Regions from separate parts of the Homo sapiens genome. Here region 2 is linked to region 1. Evidence: promoter capture Hi-C in 16 types of primary human blood cells and fetal thymus (Javierre and others, 2016). All regions are on one chromosome and are shown on one strand. Each heading gives the region's core, a stretch centred on a gene start or on the middle of the fragment in contact. The rest is flanking DNA. Distances are from core to core; before and after follow the strand shown. Region 1 holds the start of EBPL (EBP like). Region 2 overlaps CDADC1 (cytidine and dCMP deaminase domain containing 1).

Region 1 (6,455 bases), core at 816-3,315:
CTCACTACAACCTCCACCTTCCAGGTTCAAGCAATTCTCCTGCCTCAGCCACCCGGGTAGCTGAGATTATGGGCACCGTCACCACACCTGGCTAATTTTTGTATATTTAGTACAGACGGGGTTTCACCATGTTGGCCAGGCTGGTCTTGAACTCCTGACCTCGTGATCCACCCGCCTCAGCCTCCCAAAATGCTGGGATTACAGGCATGAGCCACTGTGTCCGATATGTTATACATTTTTATATATATACATTCTGATATGCTATATACAGTTATACCCAGCCAATATGTTACACAGTTTTCTCTCACTGGGCCTAGCAACATTTTTGTTATGTTATACATTTTGTTATACATTTTTTCTAACCGGGCCTAGCAATCTGCTTTATCTCCCTTGTTCTGTGGGAAACCTTGTGTTCAAGTGATAGCTTAAAAATCAATTCTCGGCTGGTGGCGGTGGCGGTGGCTCACGCCTGTCATCCCAGCACTTTGGGAGGCCAAGGTGGGCAGATCATCTGATGTTAGGGGTTTGAGACCAGTCTGGCCAACATAGTGAAACCTCATCTCTACTAAAAACACAAAAATTAGCTGGGCGTGGTGACGGGCGCCCGTAATCCCAGCTACTCGGGAGGCTGAGGCAGGAGAATAGCTTTAACCCAAGGGGCGGAGGTTGCAGTGAGCCGAGATAGTGCCACTACACTCCAGCCTGGGCAACAGTGTTAGACTCTGTCTCAAGAACAACAACAAAAAAAAAGACAAAAAAAAAAAAAAAGAATTCTATAAATAAAGGAGTTGAGAGAAACATTCACTGTCCCTTATCTCTACATGTTGATTATCAGAATAAAAAGAATTCCAGCAACATCAGTCATGGGCACAAAGCCAACCCGTAAACATTTACAGAACTCGATGATTACCCAAAACTCGGCTTGCTTTCTCAATACTACTGACTTTGGCTTCACATTAGCCACAGGTGTGTCTAGAGTTAAACAAGGTCAACTTTACAAAAAAAAAAAAAAACAAACTGATACTTGGGCATAGTTTAAAAAAAACTTAAAAGTGTGTGTGTGTGTGTGCGTGCGCGTGTGTGGTGGGGGGCGGGGCATTTCAATATAAATGCCTTAAACACAACCTTCCTGGCTATTTTATAAAATGGGTTGAATCTCTAAGGACACATATTTCCTAAGACCTCGACTGATACACAGAGTGCAAACTTGGGAGCCAGACTAGACTGCCTCAGAATCATGCCAGCTGTGTGGCACTGGAAAGTCACCTAATTTTGCAGCGCCTACCTTCACCTCTGTAAAATGGGGAACAATAATAACTAATTTATGGATGCTGTAAAGATCTGAAATTTTAAACTCAGTAATGCGCCTGGCACACATTAGACACGGGTGTTTCGTTTGTCTTGGCAAAGGCTTCGGGTTTTGCGACAATAGCCTTGCTGCCTCCGGAGCAAGCATCTCTCCTTGCCCCCTCTGGGGCATTTAAAAATGACCTCAATTCTACTCTCAATTATGTCCAGTTCAACAGTTACGTGCAGGTTACAAAGCCGAGGAAGCTGAGGTATCTTCTAAACTAACATAGCACGTACAGAATTTTTTTAAAGTTTGGTGGAGGAATCGGCAGCACAAGGTAAGCTGCGCTCTGTTCACAGACCTGGGAATCAGAACTCCGGCCGCCGCGGCCTCCAGGCGCCTCTCAGCTAACAGACTTCCTGCAGCAGGGGGAGGGGCGGCCAGCTCGCTGCAAAAAGCCGCAGGACCCCCTCACCCCGCCTTGCCGCCCCCGCTCCCACTCTCTGGGATGGGGAGTGCAGGGTCTAGGCGATGGCACTTACCAGCGCGAAGTGCACCAGCGCGTCGTAGCAGAGCCAGATGAGCGCCCCGCGGTCCGCCGCCCCCTGCCCGCGGCCCAGGCGCAGGCCCAGGGCGCAGCCCGCCGCCAGCAGCGCGGCGCACAGCAGCAGCGAACCGCCAGCCTCGGCCCCCAGCTCCCACTCAGCGCCCATGCTTCAGGCTTCCGACGCCAACGGCCCAGGACCATGCGGCAGAGGAAAGCAGGGAGAGAAACGACGGGGCGGGGCTGGCCGGGAAGGGGCGGAGCCGGATGGCCAAGGAGGAGCGGAGCTGATTGGCCAAGGCGGTCCGGGGAGGGACGGGGCTCCCCGGCCGGGTCGGGGCCAGAGCGAGGATTCCGTGCCCGCCTCGCACCCTGGCCAGCCTGCTGAGTCCGGTGGTTTTGCCAGGTGCCGCCCATGGAGGTTCCGTAGAAGGAACGTGCTCACCAACTTGCGCAACCGCCTCGACCAAACCTGTTCCCAAACCGAGCCCAAAGGATTGGTAATAGGGCCACACCTTTTGATGTTGTTTCGCTTTTAACAAGGCTCAAACTTTAAGCCACAAAGTGAAGCCTAGGTAGTGGAAATTTTGCCAGTAGACCGGGGCAGAATTTTAGGGGCAAAAGGTTTTAATTAGGCTGCAGCAAGCCTTACCAGGGAGGCTGGGGGCCAAGGGAGTTTTCAGCCACCAGCCGGCTTAAAGCCTTTATGGCCTACTCTGACAATCTTTCCATTTCTTAAAAATCCAGAAAAGTAGAAGGGTGGGTGAGAGGAGCGGTAAGTCCTATTGGCTTGGCGATAGATGCGTTTAACCTGTGGCAGGCCAGGTTTCACTATCGCAGGCCTCCATCACAACTGCTTCAGCACTGAGTGGTTAAATTAAATATTAAAAGCTGAGGCCGGGCGCGGTGGCTCACGCCTGTAATCCCAGCACTTTTTGCCAAGGCGGGCGGATCACGAGGTCAGGAAATCGAGACCATCCTGGCTAACACGGCGAAACCACGTCTCTACTAAAAATACAAAAAATTAGCCGGGCGTGGTGACGGGCGCCTGTAGTCCCAGCTACTCCGGAGGCTGAGGCAGGAGAATGGCGTGAACCCGGGAGGCGGAGCTTGCAGTGAGCCGAGATCGCGCCACTGCACTCCAGCCTGGGCAACAGAGCGAGACTCCGTCTCAAAAAACAAAAAAAAAATTAAAAGCTGAAAGAGTCAGTGCCCATATACCAAAGTCTGGAATGTAACAAAAGCCCACCAAGAGTTTTGCCTAGGCCTTTCTTGGGCCTTGAAGCATGACAAGATAACTAAGGAATTTTTAACAGGACCCGTTTAGGATTAAACAAGTTTTATTGGGGGTCTGAAGAAACTCCCCAGGCCTCCAAAAACAAGTTTATTGGGAGTCTGGAGGAATTCCACAAGCCTCCATGATTTAGCAAGAGACAAAATAAGGGTAATCATCCCAGCACCCAGACCTATTTAGATTAAGTAAATTTACTGAGGCTCCAGAGGAAGGTCTTCAGGATTAGAAGTTGTTAATCACTTACGTCTTTAGATGAATGCACTCTTACACGTAGACATATAGCTTAGAAGGTATATACGCTCTGGAAAAACTTTGTAATTATGAGTTGGTCTGGCAATAATTTCCAGACCTTCTCCCTGTAACCGGTTGCAGAAATAAAAACTCTTCTTCCCCAGTTCATCTGCACCTCATTATTGGGCTGCCCAACCCCCAGTTTGGTCCGGGAACAAACCTACATTATTTAACATCACAACAACCCTATGAGGTCGGTGAAATAAGCCAGTCACAAAAACATACTTATGATTCCACTTACAGGAAATATCTAAAATAATCAATTTGCAGAAACAAAATAGAATGATGGTTACCAGGGGTGGGGCGGGGCGGGAGTGGGGGGGGGGCGCGGGGAAAAGTGGAGTGTTATTTATTCGGATAGTTTGATTTGCAAGATGATGTTCTGGAGATTGGTTGCACAACAACGTGAACATACTTTACTGAGCTGCACACTTAAAAATGGTTAAGATGGCAAATTTTATGTGTATTTTACAGTTATTAAAAAAAATGCTGGCACTGAACACAAGAAATTTTTCCCTTAGTCACTTCCTATACCATTTTTTATAGCAGTTAACACCAGATAGAATGATCCTTGTTTACACACTTATTGCTAATCTCCTGCCACTATAATGTAAGTCTTCAAGGCCAGGGGTTGTGGCTAGCTTTTTTATTGCTGTATCCCTGGCACCTATTACAGAGTTTGGCATATATTAGCTGCTCAGTTAAATAACTGGCGACTGAGTATGGTCAATCTAGCCACCTATGCTCTGGATCCTGTCCTGTAACTAACTTATCATCCTTTAGGGACCACTCGGCCCACCTCCCCTTCAGAGCAAAATAGAAACTTAATGAAAAAACTGATCAGATCCCCTGTCTTCATGTCTTGACCCTGCTCCTCAGTCCTTTCTACTCTGGTTTCTGCCTTATCACACTGATATAGCTCTCACTAAGGTGACTACTGGCCTCCACATCACTGAACCCCAAGAACAGTTCATTTTCTTAGTGTAGTTTACTTCTCAGCAGCATCCCAGCACTGAAATATTTTTCCTTTGGTTTTCTGAGAATACAGCCTCCTTAGCCATTCTGTTTCCTTTGCAAGTGCATCTTCCACTACAAATGCCTAGTGAATGCTGCAGCTCCACAACCCAGTCCTCGGCCCTGTTCTCACTCCAGACCCCAAATCCAGGCAGTCTCATCCTTACCCTCTGCTTTAATGACCAGCAAAACCTGCAGAGAACTCAAATCTCTAGCCTGGTCCTATTCTCTGGACTCCAGACCAGTATTTCCAACTGCCCTACTTGACAGTCACTTGGATGTCTCAATATAACCCAAACTGAGCTCATCACTTTCCACCCCAATGTCTGATTCTCCTTCCTATCTCATGTTACTTCCACTCATCAGTTACTACAACCCGGAAACCTAGAAATCATCCCCGATACTTCTCTCTCCCCAAACTTGGCATCTAAGGCATCACCAACTCCTCCTCAGCAGCCAAGTATTTCTTGATTCCATGCATTTCATGGACCTGTTCACCATCTCGTCTGTGCTTCACTCACTAATGTGACCAGCGACCTCTACATCACTAAATCCAAAGGACGTTTTCTGTCCTTAGCCTTACCAACTAGTGATCTTTATTAATCTATTATCCCTCTTGCTTAATGATGATCTTCATATAGAATACCAAAATCCTTTTTATGACTTACTAGACTGTGGGGTCTGGCCCCTCCCTATCTCTTTAGCCCTTTCCCATTCCCCTATTAATCCTCCTCTCCATTATAATCTTTCATCTAGCTATACTTGCTTTCTTTCACTTCCTCAAATACCCCATGGTGCTTCCCACAAGGCTTTGTACAGACTCTTCCCACTGCTGGAAAGCTTTTCCAGTCAATGTGCCCAATAAACTCCTGCCTTTTCACCACGATCAGTGAAATTTTGGCTGGCACTTTTTAAGGGCTCAACATTAGCCTGGTTATCACCTTTCTCAGTAGCCAATTTCCTCTAGTATGTGTATCATTGTATACCTCTTTTTTTCTAACATTTGTCAAAACTTGTCTTTTTTTTTATTCCTGTTATTTTTACAAGTATCCTGTGCCATAGCACAGTACCTGGCACGGGACAGAGTATTCAGTATTCGAATGTTTCTAAAGGCTTAGTCAGAATTCTTATTTATATAAGACTGAAGACATCGAAAGGATACATATGTAGAATGTGATCTCATGAGAAAAACTAGGCTGAAGTAAATATGAAATTTATTCTTATGTTTAGAGTTGAAAAGGGTAGATGCCCAACGATTTGGGTTAAAGAGAGCTGATGATAAAGAGGGTGTGACTTGATCACAAACCTAATTATGATGAAGCTGGTAAAATAACTGAAAGACTCCCCCCACATTAATAGAATCAAAAGTCCAGATAATGGAATGTTCCCATTCATTCCAAAGTACTCAGAAACCAGTCACACCACACTCCTTATTGTTGGAATCCTTGGAGTACATCACGCTGACAGGAACCAGGTCCAGCAATGACTTTATAATGAGAATGGATGAAATGCAAGGGGTGTTCGAGTAAAAGAAAGCTGATTTAAAAAATGGATGAGTCTCCTCTGCTATCTGGAAATAACAAAGTCTACTCCCAATCAAAAACAGTTAATTTACAATGATGGAAATTTAAGTTTCTTTCTCTTTTGAGACAGGGTCTCAACTCTGTGGCCCAGGCTGAAGTGCAGTGGCACGATCTCGGGTCCAGTGTATGGCAGCCTCAGCCTCCAAAGTAGCTGGGACTACAGGCATGTACCGCCAGGCCCAGCTATTTTATTTATTTATTTTTTTTGTAGAGATGAGGTCTCACTATATTGCCCAGGCTGGTGTCAAACTCCTGGGCTCAAGTGATCCACTGACCTGGGCCTCCCAAAGTGCTGGCATTACAGGTGTGGGCCACTGCACCCAGGTTAAGAAAGGATCTTGTAGCAAGCAAAGCTAGCCAATAAATACAAGCTCCCTCAAAATGAGTACCTTGTTTCTCAAGCTCTTCTAACTTACTCCTGCAGGAATGTTTCCATAA
Region 2 (6,748 bases), core at 268-2,767, 400 kb before region 1:
AACTCTGTCTCTAAAAATAAAAATAAAACAGTAACTATATTATCGAATTATTTGGATTTGAAGTAAATGGAAGTTTTCTGTAAGTTTTCTTGATAATAACAATTTTTTAACCTTGAAAAATCAAGAAGTATAAAGGTCTTAGAATAATTTTTCTGTGAATATATTGATTTTCAGTGTTCTGAATTAGCTTTATTTGATTCAAATAGAAAATGTATTGTTTGCAATTTGGAAAAAAGTACATATCCACTGCATCTTTCTTTTTAAAAATTTATTAGCAAAAAAGGCTGTATCTATCTATCTATCTATCTATCTATCTATCTATCTATCTATCGGTCTGTCTCTCTGTCTATCTATACATCTGATTAAATAATGTACACTCAATGACAGTGTTTGAAGGGGCCAATGAATAATTTCCTATGTTAGGGAAAGGATACAAAAAGCACGAATCATAAAAAGGTTAATTTATCTATGCTACAATGAAGAATATCTGTTCATTAAAATATATTACTAGGCCAGGTGCAGTGGCTCACACCTGTAATCCCAGTGCTTTGGAAGGCTGAGGTGGGTGAATTGCTTGAGCCCAGGAGTTTGAAACCAGGCTAGGCAACATGGCAAAACCCTCTCTCTACAAAAAATACAAAAATTAGCCAATTGTGGTGGCACATGCCTGTGGTCCCAGCTACTCAGGAGGCTGAGGTGGAAGGATCTCTTAAGCATGAAGAGGTTGAGGCTGCAGTGATCCATGCTTGTACCACTCTACTCCAACCTTGGCAACAGAGTGAGACCCTGCCTTAAAAAAAAAAAAAAAAAAGATATCACTACAAGAGTGCAAAGGCAAGCCATGGAATATGAGAAGATACTTGCCACTTATAATCAACAAAGGGCTTGTATCTAGGATTTATTATTCCTAGATTACTAAGGAAAAGGAAGACATGCTGTGGTTAAAGCCCCAAGATTGGAAGGAGGGGACAAAAGGAAGGCTTCTGGTTTGCTGGCAATGTTTTATTTATTGACCCAGATGATGGTTACATATGTTTGCTTTGTGACAGTTCAACTGAACAGTTAAGTTTATGTTTATGCATTTTTGAACAAGTGTTTGATCTCAGTAAGCAATACCCCATTTCCTTTTTAATTATATGATAGTTTTACTGATATGTAATTCATCTATCATAAATTTGCTTCTTTAGTAGATTCACGAAGTTGTACAGGCATCACTACAACATAATTTCAGAACATTTTCATTATCTGAGAAAGAAGTCTCATGCCTATTTGCAGTCACTCCCCATTCTTCACTCCCCCTAGCCCTAGGCAACCACTCTTTCAGTTTTTATGGATTAGTCTATTCTGGCCATTTCATATAAATGGAATCATACAGTATGTAATTCCTTTCCAATTTTTGATTCAGTTGAGAAATAGACACCAGAATCAACAGATGAAAGTTACAACACCAGCTTTGTTGTTAGACTGGGGCTTGACTTTTGGGTAAATCAGTCTGTCTAACTCAGAGGGGGACTTGCTGCTGGATACTCTCTCAGTGCCAGTAGCAGGGACAAACAGAGAAGGAAGGCAGGCAGTGTGACTGACAACTCTCAAGTGCCCTTCCACTCCATGCAAATGGAACCCAGGTAACCCATAACAAGCATTCTTTTTAAAGAGTCATGGAGCTTTCAAGAAAATAAGAGAAATATTCTCCTAAGAACAAAATAGAGATAAGAAGGCATTTTGCTAGAATCTGAGGAGCAATAGTAAGCGAACACAATAGCCAGAGCTATCCTGGGGACAAATGTCCATATAAGCTGGGATCTGAGATCAGGTCTGGGTCTGCTGCAAGGTGAGTGAACTGAACTTAGTTCACCCAATCAACACATGAAAAGATGATTAAACTTATTAGTAGTCAGAGAAATGCAAATTAACATTGCACGGAAGTAGCTTTTTTTTTGCTTTTTTTTTTTTTTTTTTTTTTTTTTATGACGGAGTCTCACTCTGTCGCCCAGTCTGGAGTGCAGTGGCGTGATCCTGGCTCACTGCAACCTCCACCTCCCAGGTTCAAGAGATTCTCCTGCCTTAGCCTCCCAAGTATCTGGGATTACAGGCATGCACCACCATGCCCAGCTAATTTTGTATTTTTAGTAGAGACGAGGTTTCACCACGTTGGCTAGGCTAGTCTCAAACTCTGGACCTCAGGTGATCTGCCCGCCTTGGCCTCCGAAAGTGCTGGGATTACCGGCATGAGCCACCACGCCTGGCCTGAAATAGCATTTTTTATAAGCGTATGCCCTAGAGAAACTCTTGCATATTGTATAAGAGTCAGAGAGACAAAGAATTTGTTGCTATATTGTTTTTAAAAGCAAAAACTGGAAATAACACAAATGTTTGTTTTGGGTGGTTAGATAAAAATATTATGGTGTATTCCCACAATGGACTACCATATAGCAGTGAAAACAAATGAACTAGAGCTACATTCTTCAACATGGATGAATCTTAGAAATATAAATGTTGAATTTAACAAAGCAAACTACAGAATTATGATACCATTTCTGTATAAAGTTCAAAAAGACATACCATATATTGGTTAAATGTGGTAGGCCAGGCATGGTGCTCACACCTATAATCCCAGCATATTGGGAGACTGAAGCGGGCCAATTGCTTGAGCCCAGGAGTTCAAGACCAGCCTGGGCATCACAGCAAAACTCCATCTCTACAAAAGATACAAAAAATTAGTTTGGCATGGTGGCCTGTGCCTGTAGTCCCAGCTACCGCAGAGGCTGACATAGGAGGATCACCTGAGCCCAGGAGGTTGAGGATGCAGTGAGCTGAGATCACACCACTGCACTCCAGCCTGGGTAACAGACTGAGACAGACCCTGTCTCAAAAAATATATAAATAAATAAATAAAATATACTTTAATATATAGTATATACAGTAAAGTTATTGTTAAGAAGCAATCGATTGATAAACACAAAAATCAAGATAGGAGTTGCCTCTGAGTGGGGTGAAAGGGGATGGGACGAGAGAGGGAGCGCACGGGAATTGATAATGTTCTAGTTGTTGGATTCGGCAGTATGTTTTGTTTTTTTTCCATCTCCCCCCAACACACATAATGTAGTTTTATTCAGTTTTAAACAAACTGTAACTCTTTTGGGGCAGTAAGTTCATGAGTGTTCATTTTATTGTTAGGCTTTAGAACTCCCATCTGTATTATGTATGTATTATTATATATTACATAATACATTATATATAGAGAGAGAGAATGTTTCAAATATTACATGATATGATGAGAACAAGAAAGAGAGAGGGGTGGCTTTCCAGATCTACCTCTGGAAGGCAAGTCTGAGCCCTGGCCCAGGTGTCCTTAGGACAAGGAAACAGCAGGGCAGAACATACAGGCTCAGGGCAGGAAATCCCTCAAAAGATGGGAAGAAAGGGGCAGAAAGAAGCTTTTGCAGGTGATAGATATGTTCATTGTCTTGACTGTGGGGATAGTTTCATGAATGTGTACTTATGTCAGAAATCATGAAACTGGACTAAGCAAAATGGCTCCTTCCTGTGATCCCATCATTTTGGGAGGCTGAGGTGGGAGGATTGCTTGAGGCCAAGAGTTCAAGACCAGTTTGGGTAACAGACTGAGAACCCCATCTCTACAAATATTACAAATCAAAAAGTAAATTAAAAAAATTCATCAAGCTATACACTTTATGTTTAGTTTATTGCATACTTTAAACATGTATCATTTATTGTACAAATAAAGCTATTAAACACAAAAGCCAGGAAGAGGTTGAAGCCATACTCTTTTCCCAGCCTGCCCAGTCAGATAAGTCCGTCTTCCTTCCAGTCCCCAGATTCTCCCTACCCCACACACAGTCCCCTTCTCCCTTAGGAGGTACATTTTATTTCTTCCAGTCTAGTAATAGGACGTCCCCCCACCAAAAACATAAAACAAAAAGTTTTATGAATTACTTGCCGTACACTGTTGAGTGAATTCAGTTTTTGGTTTTTTTTTTTTTTGAGACAGGGTCTCGCTGTGTCACCCAGGCTGGAATGCAGTGGCACAGTCATGGCTCACTGCAGACTTGGCCTCTCTGGGCTCAAACAGTCCTCCCACCTCAGGCTCCTGAGTAGCTGGGATTACAGGTGTGCGCCACAACACCTGTTTAAAAAAAAAAAATTTTTTTTGTAGAGATGGGGTCTCCCTATGCTGCCCAAGCTGGTCTTGAACTCTTGGGATCAAGTTATCCTCCCTCCTCAGCCTCCAAAAGTGTTAAAATTACAGACGTGAGCCATTGCACCCGGCCAATGTGAATCCAGTTTTTAAAAGCCAGATTCTGTATTGCCTGAGAGTAAGTTATCTAGATTGGATTCTCTACAATTGAGAATTTGAAGATAAAATAAAGTGAAAGTTCCTTTAACTTAAGCATTGTTTTGCTCTTACAACATGTAAGGCTGAAACAAGTGCCCATGGGTTTGAAATGAAGCTGTCCTGACCTAGCGTTATTCTCAATGCTAGATGGTGTGTTGAGACCTGTCCCACAGAAGGAAGAGCAGCACCAGGACAAGAAGCTGCGCCTCGGAATCCACTAAGAAGGCCTGTCTACACTGCAGGGGAACCTCAAGAACTTTTCATTGCACTTCTAAAATTCAGCCTTGTTCATTCAGAAAATAAGGATGGATTTTGTGAATAATTGAAAAGATTTTTTAAGGAAGCTAATTTATTTCTAGGATACAAATGGTGTTAATAAGAATATTTGTCTTTTAGATTTATGTGTGGGTTTTCCATAATGTAGTAGTGTGTTATTTTATTACACGAAATGAGGGAGCAATAACTTCAACCAATGTAATCACCAACAGGGACTGATTTCTATTTATCTTGACTTTATATTAGCCAATTTGAAAGGGTCTGCTTCACAAGAGGTCATGCCTCTGCAGGGAATCACACACCTTTTGAGAAATATTAATTCTTTTGAATTACAAGAGTGACAGTTAGTAAACTGCTCCAGGGAAATAAGTGTCATCTTTTAAGAGTCAGTGTATAGCAAACCAAAAGATCACATTTATACCCAAAGCTTTCTAGTAATCAGAATTTACTTAATTAGAATTGACTCATAAAAATAAAGTTAGTGGACTTTGTCTCCATTTTTAAAGTATATTTTGTAAATGTTAATTCTGTGGTCCTGTTTATCACAGACTTTGGGTAGCAATAGGAAGAGAGTGTTATTCTGAGACAGTGTCGCTGCTTGATATCACTGACTCTTGAAATCACTAACAGTGAACCTCAAATTTGGTTATGATGTTAACAGAGAAGAAATATTTGAGTCTGGAATATTGAAACTAGCTTTCCTAGAATTCCATTAATAAATGCTGCTCCCCCATATAGTCTTCCCTTCTGTATAATTAACATAGGTTGTCTCATGGCTTTGATCTTCAAAAGGAAGAGCCTTTTAAAAACATTTGCCAACCTCAAGAATAAATACTGAAAGTCTTGAAAGTATGGTCATTTCAGCTATTCCAGATTGCTGTCTGTGATTTCTCACATTTTTATTTGCTGAGAAACATTCAGAAAATTATTCCAAAAATGAAGGTACATTTTCTGTTCTCTCCTAGGTTAGAGAGGGGTGGCCTGGGGTGCTTCATGAGAAATGTCTTCCTGGATCTGCGGTGGTCAGGTTTGCCTCTGCTTTTGTTCCCTGCCTTTCCGCCACATCACACGGCCTCACTGGGCTTCCTACCAGTTTCTCAGAATTACACGCACGACCATCCAAACATTGGCTCCATGCCAGGGCTGTGACTGCAGCCTGTGTAGGACCATGGGGAGTTCAGAGTCATCATACAAGGCAGCCAAGAACTGCCATAAACACTACACAGATGGAGGGCATGGGATAGGACAGGAGAGGAGGTGATGTACACTTAGAGGTAACTAAGGCTAGTTTGAAAACCGTGAATTAAGATATTCTTATCAGTATAAAAACACTGAGATTGCTTACCTCCCAAATTGCTTTATTGTATTAACTCTCATGCTTCAGCTCTTGGATTTGTTGTTTCTAACTAACATGTCATGTACACCAAACATTTTATAAATCAATCAGTAAATATTTTGTAAGACCCAAAATCCTGGCATATTGCCAGGTCTGTGGATTTGCCTGTTGGGTGTTGGGATGGGATATCAGAGGAAGAAGCATACAAGTGGGAAAAACTGTGATTAGAAAGGGAAAAATAGGCATTTCCACAGTACTATTAAGAGAGGCATGATAATGCCATTTTTTTTCTTCTGTACAACTGGTCAGATTTCAATAAATAATCATTGATGGTTTACTGTGTAGCCTCAGAAGGTGAAGTCTATGAGGGCAGGGAGGTGTGTGTGTGTGTGTGTGTGTACTTTTTAACTGCTGAACCCCAGTGTCTAGAACAGTACCTGGCACACAGTAGGCATTCCATAAATATTTGTTTATTGATTGAATGACTGCTAAACACTGCTAGACTGCGGGGATGAGATGTGTGAGAAATGCCTCCTGATCTTAAGACACTCACAGTCAAGTGGAAGATACAAGCATGGAATCAAGTAATTAAGAAAAATGATTCTCAGGCCAGGTGCCGTGGCTCACACCTGTAATCCCAGCACTTTGGGAGGCTGAGTGGGGTAGATCACTTGAGGTCAGGAGTTCAAGACCAGCCTGGTCAACATGGTAAAACCCCGTCTCTACTAAAAATACAAAAAAAAAAAAAAAAAAAAAAAGCTAGACATGGTATTGCATGC

What was found. Contacts are between HindIII fragments. The CHiCAGO score rates a contact against its expected background, and 5 or more counts as called.
Region 2: a contact is called between a fragment that was not itself captured here and the fragment with the promoter of EBPL in region 1, in 1 of 17 cell types (neutrophils). The highest score is 5.2, in neutrophils.

The regions. Positions count from the first base shown.
Region 1 is chr13:49,689,421-49,695,875 of GRCh38, forward strand. It overlaps EBPL (EBP like), which reads right to left and starts at 2,066. Exons shown (of 4, transcript NM_032565.5): 1 at 1,834-2,066. The coding sequence starts at 2,004. RefSeq lists an enhancer at 1,361-2,358 and silencers at 1,822-1,961, 1,992-2,191. The HindIII fragment of the contact is 12,052 bases long and covers 1-5,272 here.
Region 2 is chr13:49,287,180-49,293,927 of GRCh38, forward strand. CDADC1 (cytidine and dCMP deaminase domain containing 1) reads left to right here. Exons shown (of 10, transcript NM_030911.4): 10 at 4,505-6,306. The coding sequence ends at 4,578. Among named protein-coding and RNA genes, the nearest start is that of CDADC1, 43 kb to the left of the region's middle. The HindIII fragment of the contact is 3,835 bases long and covers 1-3,435 here.